2 separate regions of the Homo sapiens genome follow, and region 2 is linked to region 1. The links are contacts of gene promoters, found by promoter capture Hi-C in human tissues and cell types (Jung and others, 2019). All regions are on one chromosome and are shown on one strand. The core of a region is centred on a gene start or on the middle of the fragment in contact, and the rest is flanking DNA. Distances in the headings are between cores, read along the strand shown.

Evidence for each region. Contacts are between HindIII fragments. The study calls those that stand out against the background at their distance.
Region 2: a contact is called between a fragment that was not itself captured here and the fragment with the promoter of TTLL6 in region 1, in 1 of the 25 tissues and cell types used here (mesendoderm cells).

What each region holds. Positions count from the first base shown.
Region 1 is chr17:48,813,448-48,820,601 of GRCh38, forward strand. TTLL6 (tubulin tyrosine ligase like 6) reads right to left here and starts at 3,782. Exons shown (of 16, transcript NM_001130918.3): 1 at 3,523-3,782. The coding sequence starts at 3,625. It overlaps LOC105371813 (a long non-coding RNA gene), which reads left to right. Exons shown (of 4, transcript XR_001752926.1): 3 at 2,392-2,545; 4 at 2,982-3,511. RefSeq lists silencers at 3,488-3,537, 3,628-3,977. The HindIII fragment of the contact is 9,954 bases long and covers 1,238-7,154 here.
Region 2 is chr17:48,845,466-48,852,619 of GRCh38, forward strand. It overlaps CALCOCO2 (calcium binding and coiled-coil domain 2), which reads left to right. Exons shown (of 13, transcript NM_005831.5): 3 at 2,599-2,701; 4 at 2,857-2,990; 5 at 3,787-3,912; 6 at 5,624-5,712; 7 at 6,094-6,163; 8 at 7,041-7,154. Among named protein-coding and RNA genes, the nearest start is that of CALCOCO2, 18 kb to the left of the region's middle. The HindIII fragment of the contact is 6,665 bases long and covers 2,573-7,154 here.

The DNA.
Region 1 (7,154 bases), core at 2,532-5,031:
ACTCAGGAGGCTGAGGTGGGAGGATCACTTTAGCCCGGGAGGCTGAGGTTGCAGCGAGTAGAGATCACACAACTGCACTCCAGCCTGGGAGACAGAACTAGACCTTGCCTCAAAAACAAAAAGAAAAAGAAAAAGAGAAAAATAATCAGTTGGTCCCACATCATTTTCCTTAAAGTCAACTGCTTTAAATTCCCATCTCCAACAAGGGCTTGGATCTCTCCAGATTTGCCATAACCTGGTAACAGCTGTATTGTTTCTACTTGTATTTATTTTCACTCTCTTTCCCTTCTTTTCTCCAATGTCCACATTGTACCAGGGCTCCTATTAAGGGTGTAATTAGAATATTTTCTAAGCTTCTATGGAATTCCTGAATGTTAGAGCTGGGAGGAATCTTTTTAGAGGAGGTTTTGAACTCTCTGCCCTCTGCCAGTCTGTGCTAGGGGAGGGGACTTGTACCCAGCCAGAGAGCAAGAAATCAGAAGCACCATCAAAACCCCAGCTTCCTGGTCCCCAAGTTATCTTCCCATTATGCTGGGTTAGTGGACAGACAAAGTGGACTAAGTGCTTTAGAGAGTTTTTAAAAGACTAAGGCTGGGTGCGGTGGCTCACGCCTGTAATTCCAGCACTTTGGGAGGCCAAGGCAGGTGGGTTACTTGAGGTCAGGAGTTGGAGACCAAGTTGGCAAACATGGTGAAACCCCGTCTCTACTAAAAATACAAAAATTAGCTGGGCATGGTGGCAGGCGCCTGTAATCCCAGCTACTCGGTAGGCTGGGGCAGGAGAATCGCTTGAACCTGGGAGGCGGACGTTGCAGTGAGCCCAGATCGCACCACTGCCCTCCAGTCTGGGTGACAGAGGGAGACAGTGTCTCAAAAAAAAAAAAAAAAAAAAAAAGACTAAGAGCTGTACTACCAATGTAACAAACACAGTAAATAGCAAAATAGCATCTTCAGTTTTTCTTAATGACACAAGAAAGAGCATTGTGTCATTAAGGAAGGGTATTAGTCCACCTTTCCAAGTAGGATATAGTTAAGACACTGAAAAAATTCTCATGTTTCCTTCCATTTTAGTATAGGGTTTGATCTTGAGATCTTCCAAGCCAGAGGCTGTCAACAAGATCCTGGTTAGACAGCACGAAAATGTCCTACATTGGCCACCAGGGGGAGGGAATGAGCACTGGGACGGGTCCACTGGGACGGGTCCATTGCGGGTTATTTGGAAAAAACTCAGAGGAGGGTCCCTGTCTTATTTCCACTTCTGAAGGACTATACCTGTTGACTACTCTCCTCTTCCCTGGAGGTGTTGCAGAGGGTGGAAAATGTTTAGTGCTTTCTTTTATCTTTCTTTCTTTCTTTCAAACTCCAGCCTGTTGCCCAGGCTGGAGTGCAATGGCACGATCTCAGCTCACCGCAACCTCTGCCTCCTGGATTCAAGTGATTCTCCCGCCTTAGCTTCCCGGGAGCTGGGACTACAGGCATGCACCACCACGCCTGGCTAATTTTGTATTTTTAGTAGAGATGGGGTTTCTCCATGTTGGTCAGGCTGGTCTCAAACTCCCAACCTCAGGTTATCAGCCCACCTCAGCCTCCCAAAGTGCTGGGATTACAAGCATGAGCCACCGCGCCCAGCAGTTTAGTGATTTCTTTTGCAAAACTGAATGAACACGGGCATCCTATAAATGATAGAAAACAATAATTTGGTGGTTGACTAAGAGAACCCTGGGAGAACATATTTCAAGTTGTAGCCAAGTTTTTTCATCTCTGACCTTCATCACCTGGACTTTTTTTCTAGTCTATAGGAATATATAGAGCACTGAAAGTTTCGCCTATTGTGTCTGTCTGTGAAGTCCCTCTCTTTCACCAGATAATAGGTTTTCCTTCACGTACCTCCTTTTCATCTTTTGGTCCTCATTTCCCTACTGGAAGCATCCCTCTGAAGGCCTCCAGTGGTTCTTGGAAAATGTCAAATTGGATGGGGGAAGAAAAGATGTGGAGGTAAGACCTCTGGATCTTGCTTTCAGCTTTGCCCCTCCAACTCAGTATGTCATAAAAATCCAAGCAATTATTTCCTCTCCCACTCCCTATCTTCTCTATAATTACAGGACCACTAGGAGGATAAAAGCTTCACATCTAGAAAAGTGCTTTGAGCTTTGATTCAGACAGGATAAAATAAGATGTTTTTTGTGGTCTTTTGACTTTTCGTTTTAGTCACACTTTGAATTTCAGCCCGGGGCCTGAAAGGGTCCTAAGCAAAATGTGAACTAACAAGGGAGGGATGGGGCACCCAATTGCTCAAGGGCTTTGCCAATAAGAAGTGTTGAGAATGACAAGTCACCTGTAGTGGGAACAATAAGAATCTTGCTGACTTAGATGCCATCTTTTATTCTTCTAGAAACTGAGAAATTCTGCAAGATTGGAAGATGCAATATTCAGATCAGGCTCATGCCTAGTCATTTTCTCCACAATATTCAGGGCATTGCTAACAAAGACAGATGGATCTGGATCCAAATCCCAGCTCTACTAGTTTCTAGAATGTGTGACCATGGGTGAGTAACTTAGCCTCTCTGTACCTCAGCTTCTGTATAAGTAAAATGGGGATGATAATAATATTCATTTTATGGAGCTGTTTTAAAGATTAAATGAGTTAATATTTCTAATACCCTTAAAGCAGTGCTTGGTTCAAAATAAAGGCTATATTGTAAAATGAAAATATAAACCAGGCGTGGTGACTCATGCCTGTAATTCCAGCACTTTGGGAAGCCCAAGTGGGAGGATCACTTGAGCTCAGGAGTTCGAGACCAGCCTGGGCAAAAAAGTGAGCCCCCCCACCCCCACCTCCATCTCTTAAAACAAACAAAAAAGAAAATATAATAATAAGATTGGCATAAATATTAAATTTTTTTGGAGTGCCTCGCACATACTGGTGCTTTCAAAACGTTAGCTCCCTTCCCACTTCATCCCCCAATGTGATATTTTTCCTAGAGTTCAAATCCCAAAGGAGAACTTTCTGCAAAGCCAGAAGAGTATTTTTTCAGGAGGGGTGAGAAATAACAACTGGAAATGAAAGAACACCAGGCTGGAAGGCGGTAGGGGCATCAGCAGAGGACTATGCCGGCCATGAAAAATGGGAAGTGTCTTGCTGGAAGGTTTCTCCAGACAAAGGAAGAACAGTGATGAAGAAAATGACCCAATGATGGGGATGAAGGGGATGAAGAGAGTTGTGTGAGTCCCAGGGATCGCTGGTGTCTAAGCGACAGCTCCTTGGTGGACTGTGGTTTAGGAAATCGGGGGAGGGCGGGAAATGAACGTTAATAAGAGGGACTGAGAAGGGGGGAGTCCCGGAGCCGAGGGACCGTGAGGGTGAGTGCCTGGCGCCATGGAACGCCACCAGGGAGGGCAGCGGGCTACCCTGGGGACCTGGGTCCCGTGTGGGTTTAAGGAGACGTGTCTAGCCAGGTTTTCAGGGGACAGGCACCAGGAGGCTGCGGTCTGGAGCCAGCACCGGGCTTTGGGGCGCTCTTACCCGCAATTCCTACTCCCCCGTCTCGCCCCGCTGGGCTGCTAGTCCAGCTTGCAACCACACCTGCCGGCCCCCTCCTCGAAGGATGAAGGAGTAACGCTCCCATTGGCTGCCAGACAGCCCCAACCCCAACCCGCGCTCGCCCTAACTTTGGGTCCGCCCGGCCCTCATATTTGCATACGGGGCCTTCTAGGCCTTCGATTGGCCCCTGCAGTAGCTGCCATGCCCCCTCCCTCCCGAATCCAATTAACCGCCCAGGCGCTAGGGGAGGGGCGCGCCCACGGTTGTCCCGGGAGACGCGGAGGACGCGCGCACCGCGCACCCGGGCGCCAGGGGCTGGACCGCCGCTCGCTCCCGCAGCCCTACCCTTGCCCAGCGAGCCAAGCCGCAGTCCCAGCCCATCCGCGCCGGTGCCGTCGGGCGCCGTGCGCGGGCGCGGCCAGAACGTCTGGCTCCAGAGGTCCAGCTGCGCGGGGCTGCGGTGAGGGAGGGGGGCACCTTGAATTTAGGCCTTCGGGAGAGGGCAAACCTGAAGCAGGAGGCACTGTGGGAAAACACTGGTTGGAGACTTAAATCAGCATCTCAGGCATATTAGTGCCTGTGTCACCTTGGGCAGGCCACGTTACCTCTGTGAGGCTTAGCTTCTTCAACAGGAAAATGGGTGTTGCAAACCTGTGATGACCGCTCAGGCGTATTGAACCCTGACCTCACCTCCAGAGTGTGGGGGTCATGGCCTCCAGTGAACTGATCAGTAAGAGAGGGCCGCCTAGACCGACTGAAGAGTCAGTGAGACTTAAGGGGTTAGGGGTCTGGGCTTCTCAGAGCAACCATTTGGTCTCAGGTGGAGAATCTGTAGTAGTGACTGGATTCAAATCATTGAAGATGGTCGGGCGCGGTGGCTCACGCCTGTAATCCCAGCACTTTGGGAGGCCTAGGTGGGTGGATCGCTTGAGCTCAGAAGTTCAACACCAGCTGGACAACATGGCGAAACCTCCTCTCTACTAAAAATACAAAAATTAACCGAGCGCGGTGCGCGTACCTGTGGTCCCAGCTATCGGGAGGCTGAGGCGGGAGGATCGCTTGAACACAGGAGGCAGAGGTTGCATTAAGCTGAGATCGCGCCACTGCACTCCAGCCTGGGCAACAGAGGGAAACTCTGTCTCAAATAAATAAATAAACATTGTTCATTTGGGCCTGAGTTGGTAACCTAAGTTCCTCCCAACCCAGATCCCCTTCACCTGCTGATGTGCACAGGCAGAACACCAGAGGCAAGGGTGTAGCTTAGCCTCAAGCCGACCCTGGAAGCCTACTACGTGGTGCTTACAGTCACCCCGGAGTGAACAGAAGGCCCAAAGTGGAACCAGTGGCCCATCTGCTGCTCTTTCAGAAACCTCTCTGCCATCCAGTCAGCACTCTTCCCTTTTCCCCCCGCAGGTGGCCCCGTGCTGTGGTGCCCCTCCCCGACAGGCCCTAAGGGGCCAAGTGACCATCATTAACTGGTCACCCAGCAGATGCTTCCCTAAGACCAACTGTCCCAGCCTGGTCCCCTCCCCCATCCCACTGTTGTCTTTCCCCAGCGTCCTACCAATCTGCTCTGCCTAGCTCCTGTTTGGTCTCCGGTCCCTCAGGAGTGATATTGTGATGGAAATGAGGGAGAGGATACAGGAGAGAGCAGCAAAGATTTACGGCTTTCAGAGAGTTTCCACTAAAATCCCTGACAACTGGTTATTTATGAGATGTTGCAACGGGAGCTTATAGGCCAGAGCCTGGCACTACTGTCCTTTCAGGGCTGATGTCAGGAGCAAACACAGGGTGAACACGGTGAACAGTGGAGCTGCCCTCACTGTAGAGCAAAGCAAGCTTCAACCCGAGTGACAGCCAGGAAAGCAGAGAATATCAGTGATTTGTGCCTGGCAAACCCTAAACAGACAAATCCACAAGGTAAACACTGAGGGACTTACTCGGCCTGGGCATGAAAAACTGAAGCAGAATGATGGAGGGTCCTAATTGTCAAAAAATTTGGACCATGTCCTAGAAGCTGTCAGAGGCAAGAGTGTGTGGAAAAATCCAGGTCCAACCCTGTTGTTTTCACTGCTGTTTTGTTCCTAAGGCACCCACCTGACTAAATAGATAAATAGTAAAACAACAGTAAAATCCCCGTAAGGTTGTTTGCTCTGCACTTCACACACAGCGTTTTTTCTCAGTTTGGAGTTCTTCCTTTAAGTAGTTAATGAAACAAACAGAGATCCTGCTTCTGCTCCCTGAACCAAGGTCCCTCCTAGAAGCCCTTTCTTCCTGTGCCAGTCAAAATATATTTTTTTTTTCAGACGGAGTCTTGCTCTGTCGCCCAGGCTGGAGTGCAGTGGCGCGATCTCAGCTCACTGCAATCTCTGCCTCCTGGGTTCAAGCAATTCTCCTGCCTCAGCCTCCCAAGTAGCTGGAATTACAGACACCCGCCACCATGCCCGGCTAATTTTTGTATTTTTAGTAGAGACGGGTTTCACCATGTTGGCCAGGCTGGTCTCAAACTCCTGACCACGTGATCCGCCCACCTCGGCATCCCAAAGTGGTGGGATTACAGGCGTGATCCACTGCACCCGGCCAAAATAATTTTATTTTGTTTTTTTCGAGATGGAGTCTTGCTCTGTCGTCCAGGCTGGAGTACAGTGGCACGGTCATGACTCATTGAAGCCTCAAACTCCTGGGCTCAAGCAACGCTCCTGAGTAGCTAGGATTACAGGCTCCTACCACCATGCCTGACTAATTTTTTAAAAAAACAATTTTGTAGAGACGGGATCTTGTTTTGTTGCCTCTCAAAATGTTGGGATCACAGGTGTTAGCCACCGTGCCCAGCCAAAATAAAGTCTTGATATGTGTACCAGGAATGATGTAAGGAGTGGGAATGAGGCAAGGATGCTTAGATAAAATTTTGCATACCCCAGATTTTTTTTGCTTTAAGTCTGCAATGCATGAGAGAATGTTGTAGAAGTGTATATAATCACAGAATTGGGCTTCTTTTAAATCAGAAGAGTTCTTAGAGACCTCCATGGCATTTGTCCTGTTTTCAGATGAGGAAACTGAGGCCCAGGAAAGTGGGATGGCTTTGCTCAAGGCTTGCAGTGGGGTCATAGAGTCCATTACCCCTTCCTCCACATGCTCTGATATTAGTGAAATAGAAATAGCAATAGAAACTGCTGCCAAGCACCTCTTCTGAATCCTCTCCATTTTGATGTGTAACTGTATCTGATGGGGCTGAAAGAGCCCCTGGACAGGGGACTGCCCACCCATGAGCAGTGGAGCTCCCAGGTTTCTGGGTTTTTTTGTTTTTGTTTTTGTTTTTTCGAGATGGAGTCTCGCCCTGTCACCCAGGCTAGAGTGCAGTGGCACAATCTCGGCTCACTGCAACCTCCGCCTCCCGGGTTCAAACGATTCTCCTGCCTCAGCCTCCTCAGCCTCCTGAGTAGCTGGGACTACAGGCACCTGCCATCACGCCTGGCTAATTTTTGTATTTTTAGTAGAGACGGGGTTTCGCCATGTTGGCCAGGCTGGTTTTGAACTCTTGACCTCAGGTGATCCACCCACCTCAGCCTCCCAAAGTGCTAGAATTATAGGCGTGAGCCACTGCACTCAGATAA
Region 2 (7,154 bases), core at 4,655-7,154, 34 kb after region 1:
ATGCCTGTAATCCCAGCACTTTAAGAGGCCGAGGCAGGTGGATCACCTGAGCTAGGGAGTTCAAGACCAGCCGGACCAACATGGAGAAACCCTGTCTCTACTAAAAATACAAAATTAGCCAGGCGTGGTGGCACATGCCTGTAATCCCAGCTACTTGGGAGGCTGAGGCAAGAGAATCCCTTGAACCCAGGAGGCGGAGGTTGCAGTGAGCCAAGATCATGCCATTGCACTCCAGCCTGGGCAACAGAGCGAGACTCCATCTCAAAAAAAAAAAAAAAAGAAAAGAAAAGAAAGAAAAATTCTCACAGTGCAGTAGCCCCCTGAGGTGGGTAGTAGTATCTCTTGGGCATAAGTAAGTAACATGAATATCCCTGAGAGATGGTGACTTTCCCAAGGCCTCACAGTGAATAAGCCGTGAAGCAGGTTTGGCTCCCAAACCTCTGGTTTTTCCTCCTCTACTCTGCTGAATTCCTTTGAGCAACAGATAGTAAATTAGAGAATGAAGAGTTGGCTGTAAAGTTTCGTCCTTTGCAGCTCACCTCAAATGCTCTCCCCAGTGTTCTTTCAGTGTAGTCTTAATCAGACTATTCAACTCCTCATCACCCCAGACACTGGTAGTATCTGGCACCAGGTAGGTACTCAGTAACTCTTTTTATTTTTTATTTATTTTTTAAAATTTATTTTATTTTGAGACAGAGTCTTGCTCTGTCACCCAGGCTGGAGTGCAGAGGTGCAATCTGGGCTCACTGCAACCTCTGCCTCCTGGGTTCCAGTGATTCTCGTGTCTCAGCCACTGAGTAACTGGGATTATAGGCATGCACCACTGTGCCCAGTCAGTAAATATTTTTAATACATACAAATATGTTACATCTTCTCTATAGTGAAAGCCACCACCAATGATGGAGCCTAAAGCAGGAAGCAGTCTGCTTTCCTTCCCTCAGTGTATAATCCTATGCTTCATACTCTCCTTGACTTAGGCATTTAAATGTTTCCAAGACAAATTGGAACAAGAACTACTCAAATGGAGGAGCCAAGGACAGAAATTGCAGGTGGCTAGAAGTTGTTTCCCTGTTCCAAGGCAGCAATAATTCTTAGGCCTTCCCAATGATATTTTGGTCACAGTGCATTAAGAAACTCCAGGATGTGAATGAGGACTCCATAAAATTCCTGCTTCCTGTACCACCGCAGGCTGCAGTGGCTCTGAGATGCTTACAGCAATGGGGTGTGTATTAATGAGACTCTAAAACATGCCCTAGGATGTTCTGATGAGTTTTTGGTATAGACTTTTCAACCCTGCTTTGATTCCTTAATATATAAAAATGGAATTTATTTTTAGTTCTCTTCTTACTGAGCTCAGACAGGGTCAAAATATGGCAATAAATGTAATTTTGCTTCTCATTTGCTGAGTGTTGTCCCCTTGAAGACACAATAGCTTCCTTTCTATTCTCTGGTGTGCTTTTATTTTCTAGATAAGATTTGAGCAATCTTTTACCCCCTTCACATTTGTGAGAATATTTTCCACTTAGCCAGCTTTCTGCTCTGAGGCGTGTTTTGCTGCATCCTTATGTCTTATGATTTATTGTATTCAATACCTAGAAGAGGCCTTTACGACTACCAGATTGTTGTTAATATCTTTATTACCAAAAAGCCATCATTAAGCATGCATGAAGAAAAAAAATTATATAGACCTGGAATCTCTTATCTGGTGCCTCATAATCTAAGAACCCTGTTCTCCCTCTGCCCCCAACACAGACATTATGAAAAATAATGGGTTTTTTTTTAATGCAGTAGTATATCCAGGTTGGTATATGACAAGGCTTAATTGGACACAATAGAGGACACACCAATAGAGAGGGCAGGTCAGAAGTGATTTCTGATTTAGAAGTCCAAAGAATGCCATTGTAAGAGGATCAGGGTTCATATTCCCGCAACTTTCCCCTTAAATCAGTCTCAGCTCTATCTCTGACTTGTAGATAGAATTTTTGGAGCTTTTTTCCTGGGTGGTGAGGAGCTAGTTTTCAAATCCTTCTAAGACTTGTATTTTGAGCTGTGTATGTGCACCCCAATTTTTGGTTGTATCAGACATTTTCCCATATGTATTTGTCATAAGTGAAAAATAAAATAAAAAATTAAAAAAGGTTTGAGCCCTGGCGTGAGAATCTTGTCATAATGAACTCATTCTATTATATTTTCTTTTTTCTTTTTTTGGAGACGGAGTCTCACTCTGTCACCCAGGCTGGAGTGCAGTGGTGCAATCTCGGCTCACTGCAACCTCCGCCTCCTGGGTTCAAGCAATTCTCCTGCCTCAACCTCCTGAGTAGCTGGGATTACAGGCGCACACCACCGTGCCAACTTATTTTTTGTATTTTAATGGAGACGGGTTTTCACCATGTTGCCCAGGCTGGTCTCAAACTACTGAGCTCAGGCAATCCACCCACCTTGGCCTCCCAAAGTGCTAGGATTACAGGCATGAGCCACTGCACCCGGCCTATATTTTCAATATATACAAATAAAAAGTGATTTTAAGAAGATGTAGCCCAATTAGGATTTTCCCCAGTCCCCTTTCAGGTACTAAATAAGAACTTCTTGTCATTGCAGGTGGGGTGGAAGACAACCCGTGAGTATTACACCTTCATGTGGGTTACTTTGCCCATTGACCTAAACAACAAATCAGCTAAACAGCAGGAAGTCCAATTCAAAGGTGAGAAAAATACTGGATCAAAGGTGTTGAAGACAGTAGCCAAGACTAATTAATTCCCTTCAGCTTGAGCTTTCTGGGGCAGATAAAAAGATTTCCAGAATTTTACTTTTCTGAATAGATCTTATTTTGGATGAAAAATTATGTTGTGTTTTCAGCTTACTACCTGCCCAAGGATGATGAGTATTACCAGTTCTGCTATGTGGATGAGGATGGTGTGGTCCGGGGAGCAAGTATTCCTTTCCAATTCCGTCCAGAAAATGAGGAAGACATCCTGGTTGTTACCACTCAGGTTTGTAAAACTTCTCACCTCAATCCCTTACTGCCATTACGGGTAGCAATATAGGATAGGATGGAATTTGAGTTAATAAGGCTTTATTGAATATCTAACGGGTATCATTGGAAAAAATGTATGTAGTACTCACACAGACTCACTCAGGAATGACTTCGGAATGTTAACAAGACTCATAACAATAAGTGGTTTCTTCTTTTCTAAAACTTCTTTAACTCAGCTGGCATTCAGTTATTCTTTTAACTTTCCAATTGCTTAATTTTTGTCATCTACACATCTTATCACAATGGTAAATGTAAAAGCTCCTTTGAGGAGAGAAGCACCAAATATTCTTATCTCTTTCAGTTCTGGCCTACAGCCTGTCTGTCATACGTGAGTATTAGATTCATTTTCTTACTTCATCATTTAACAGGACACCTACTTTTCATCCAGCACTATGGTAGGCACTGGGAACACAATGAAGAATCAGTTAAAACACTGTCCTTGGCCTCAAGGAGCTAAGTCCATTGGGAGAGACAAACAATACTAAGCGTCTGCAAGAAGAAGCTACATTCTTATATCATTGTTCCTTTTAATTTTAATGGATATAATTTTTGCTTGCCTTTCTTGGTATTGCTGCAATTATAAAGACATACCTCTGTTATACCCTTACCTAGGTATTAAGGAGCAGCCCCCATCTGGGATACATAGGTGTCACTGCAGTGAATGGGAATCAGCCAGTCCCTCACCATCCTAACCTATGGGAATTTTCTGCTAGAGGGACTTGGAATATAGTTTATGGAATGTTCTTTTGTAGGGAGAGGTGGAAGAGATTGAGCAGCACAACAAGGAGCTTTGCAAAGAAAACCAGGAGCTGAAGGACAGCTGTATCAGCCTCCAGAAGCAGAACTCAGACATGCAGGCTGAGCTCCAAAAGAAGCAGGTATGGCTGCTGGTTATAGGTGACCTTGGAGCATGGAGATCAGAATTGGATGGTGCCTCTTATCCAGCACCATATTCTGTTTTGCCTGTGATCTCACCTTCTTATACCAGTATCTTTGAACAGGCATTAGTTTTGTTTGTTTGTTTGAAATGGAGTCTCACTGTGTCACCCAGGCTGGAGTGCAAGGGTGCGATCCTGGCTCACTGCAACCCCCATCTCCCAGGTTCAAGCGATTCTCCTGCCTCAGCCTCCCGAGTAGCTGGGATTACAGGTGATCACCACCACACCCAGCCAATTTTTATATTTTTTAGAGACAGGGTTTTACCATGTTGGCCAGGCTGGTCTCGCACTCCTGGCCTCAGGTGATCCACTCGCCTGAGCTTCCCAAAGTGCTGGGATTATAGGCATGAGCCACCGTCCCTGTCTGAATATCTCCTTTTAATTGTTCATATGTTGAAATGATATTTTAGGTACATTCGGTTAAATATACTATCATTTGGCCAGGTGCAGTGGCTCACACCTGTAATACCAGCACTTTGGGAGGCCAAGATGGGTGGATCACTTGAGGTCAGGAGTTCGAGACCAGCCTGGCCAATATGACAAAACCCCGTCTCTACTAAAAATACAAAAATTAGCCAGGAGACCGGGCGTGGTGGCTCATGCCTGTAATCTCAGCACTTTGGGAGGCCGAGGCAGGTGGATCACAAGGTCAGGAGTTTGAGACCAGCCTGGCCAAGATGGTGAAACCCCGTCTCTACTAAAAATACAAAAATTAGCCAAGCATGGTGGTAGGCACCTGTAATCCAAGCTACTCAGGAGGCTGAGGCAGGAGAATTGCTTGAACCTGGGAGGCAGAGGTTGCAGTGAGCCAAGATCACACCCCTGCACTCTAGCCTGGGCAACAGAGCAAGACTCTGTCTCAAAAAAAAATTAGCCAGGCATGGTGGCATGCGCCTGTAATCCCGGCTACTCAGGAGGCTGAGGCAAGATAATTGCTTGAACCCGGGAGGCAGAGATTGCAGTGAGCCAAGATCACGCCACTGCACTCCAGCCTGAGCAACAGAGCAAGACTTTATCTCAAAAAAAATTAAAAACAAAAAATATATATATATGCATACACATAGTATTATTAAAATTAGTCTGTTTCTTTTTACCTTTTTAAAAATGTGCCTCCTAAGATTTTAAAATTATATGTAGCTCTCACTTATTGAACAGCGCTGTTCTAGGAAAAGGGCAGTTCTGTCTATTTTGTCCACTGTTGTGTCTGCAATGCAAGAACAGTGTCTAGTGTGGAATAGGCTCTCAGTAAATATTTGTTTAATGAACAAATTATAAGCTCCAGTGGAATGAGAAATTAAGGTGATGCATTTTTAATATAAAAAGAGCATTTTGTGACCAGGCGCAGTGGCTCATGCCTGTAATCCCAGCACTTTGGGAGGCTGAGGCACAACAATTGCGTGAACCCGGGCGACAGAGGTTGCAGTGAGCCAAGACTGCGCCACTGCACTCCAGCCTGGGCAATAGAGTGAGACACTGTCTTAAAAAAAAAAAAAAAAGAACATTTTCCTTTTATTTGAGTATTTCATTTACTGCTGTGTCATGCTATGCCTGACATATAGTAAGTGCTCAATAAATATTTGTTGCCTGCCTAAGATACTCATTCAAAAGTCATAGAACTAGTCTGTCCCTTTGATGTTGTTTCAATCTATAGGAGGAGCTAGAAACCCTACAGAGCATCAATAAGAAGTTGGAACTGAAAGTGAAAGAACAGAAGGACTATTGGGAGACAGAGCTGCTTCAGTGAGTGCATCCCATAATTCTGGGAGGGGAAGAGCTGCTGTACCATCAGTACCCTTAAGTACAGTCAGATTAGATTTCTGGAATTTGTGAGAAAACACTGTTATGACATTGATGATGTGATTCTCCACCCTTTGAATCATGAATTAGAAAATTGGTATCAGAATAGTCAGGAAAAATGATCTGATTTCAAATATTAACTTTAGGGATTGAATACTTGCAGTTTTTTGGAGTCAGGAAGCCAAAACAGGACTGCAATGGAGACTAGTAGATTTTTAAATAATTCTGCAGGCTTAGGGCCAAGCCAGCCTTAAATCACTTAAGGCCAGGGGTAGCTGACCTGGAATCAGTGAATTTTTCACATAGTTATCTCCACCTCTACAGACTGAAAGAACAAAACCAGAAGATGTCCTCAGAAAATGAGAAGATGGGAATCAGAGTGGATCAGCTTCAGGTAGGTAATGCCATATGTTTGTCAAAGGATATTTTCTTAGCCTTACCACTGCTCCAATTTGGTGGCCTAGAAAGATGTATTTCATTGCAGTGAGTGCCTAATGGCATACTTTTCAAAGTATCACACTAAAGTTTCAGGTTATGTATTTTCCATTCTTGGACCAGGTAAGCCTCCACCCTACCCATGCCCCTGCTTTTAAAAAAAAAAAAATCATGATTCACAGCCGGGCGCAGTGGCTCATGTCTGTAATCCCAGCACTTTGGGAGGCCAAGGCAGGTGGATCACCTGAGGTCAGGAGTTCGAGATCAGCCTGGCCAATATGGCAAAACCCCGTCTCTACTAAAAATACAAAAATTAGCTGGGCGTGCTAATTTACAGGCGCACGTGTAATTCCAGCTACTCGGGAGGCTGAGGCAGAAGAATCACTTGAGCCCCGGAGGCAAAGGTTGCAGTGAATAGAGATTGCACCACTGCACTCCAGCCTGGGTGACAGAGCAAGACTCTGTCTCAAGAGAAAAAAAAAAAAAAATCATGATTCACAAGGAACTTAGTGATTTGTTCATGTATTACTAAGGTAGTTTACCATGAGCTCTTAATATAGATGACAATCATCTATATCAATAATCAAACTTTAATCTTTTCAAGCAAAATCGTACTCAAAAGTCTGGAATATAGAGCAGATAGCAGAACTGCTCTCATTTTTAGGAAGCTATGCCTTAAAGAGGTGCTTTAAAGAGTGATTTGTCTAATTTTACTCAGTTGGCAGTTGGGAGTTGCTAGGGAAACACATCTCTTTGTTATTGTACGTTAAAAAGCATTGTTCCTGTTTTGTTTTCCTTCTTTTATATCTTGGTTATGTTCACTATTTTTGTTTTAGGCCCAGCTGTCAACTCAAGAGAAAGAAATGGAGAAGCTTGTTCAGGGAGATCAAGATAAGACAGAGCAGTTAGAGCAGCTGAAAAAGGAAAATGACCACCTCTTTCTCAGTTTA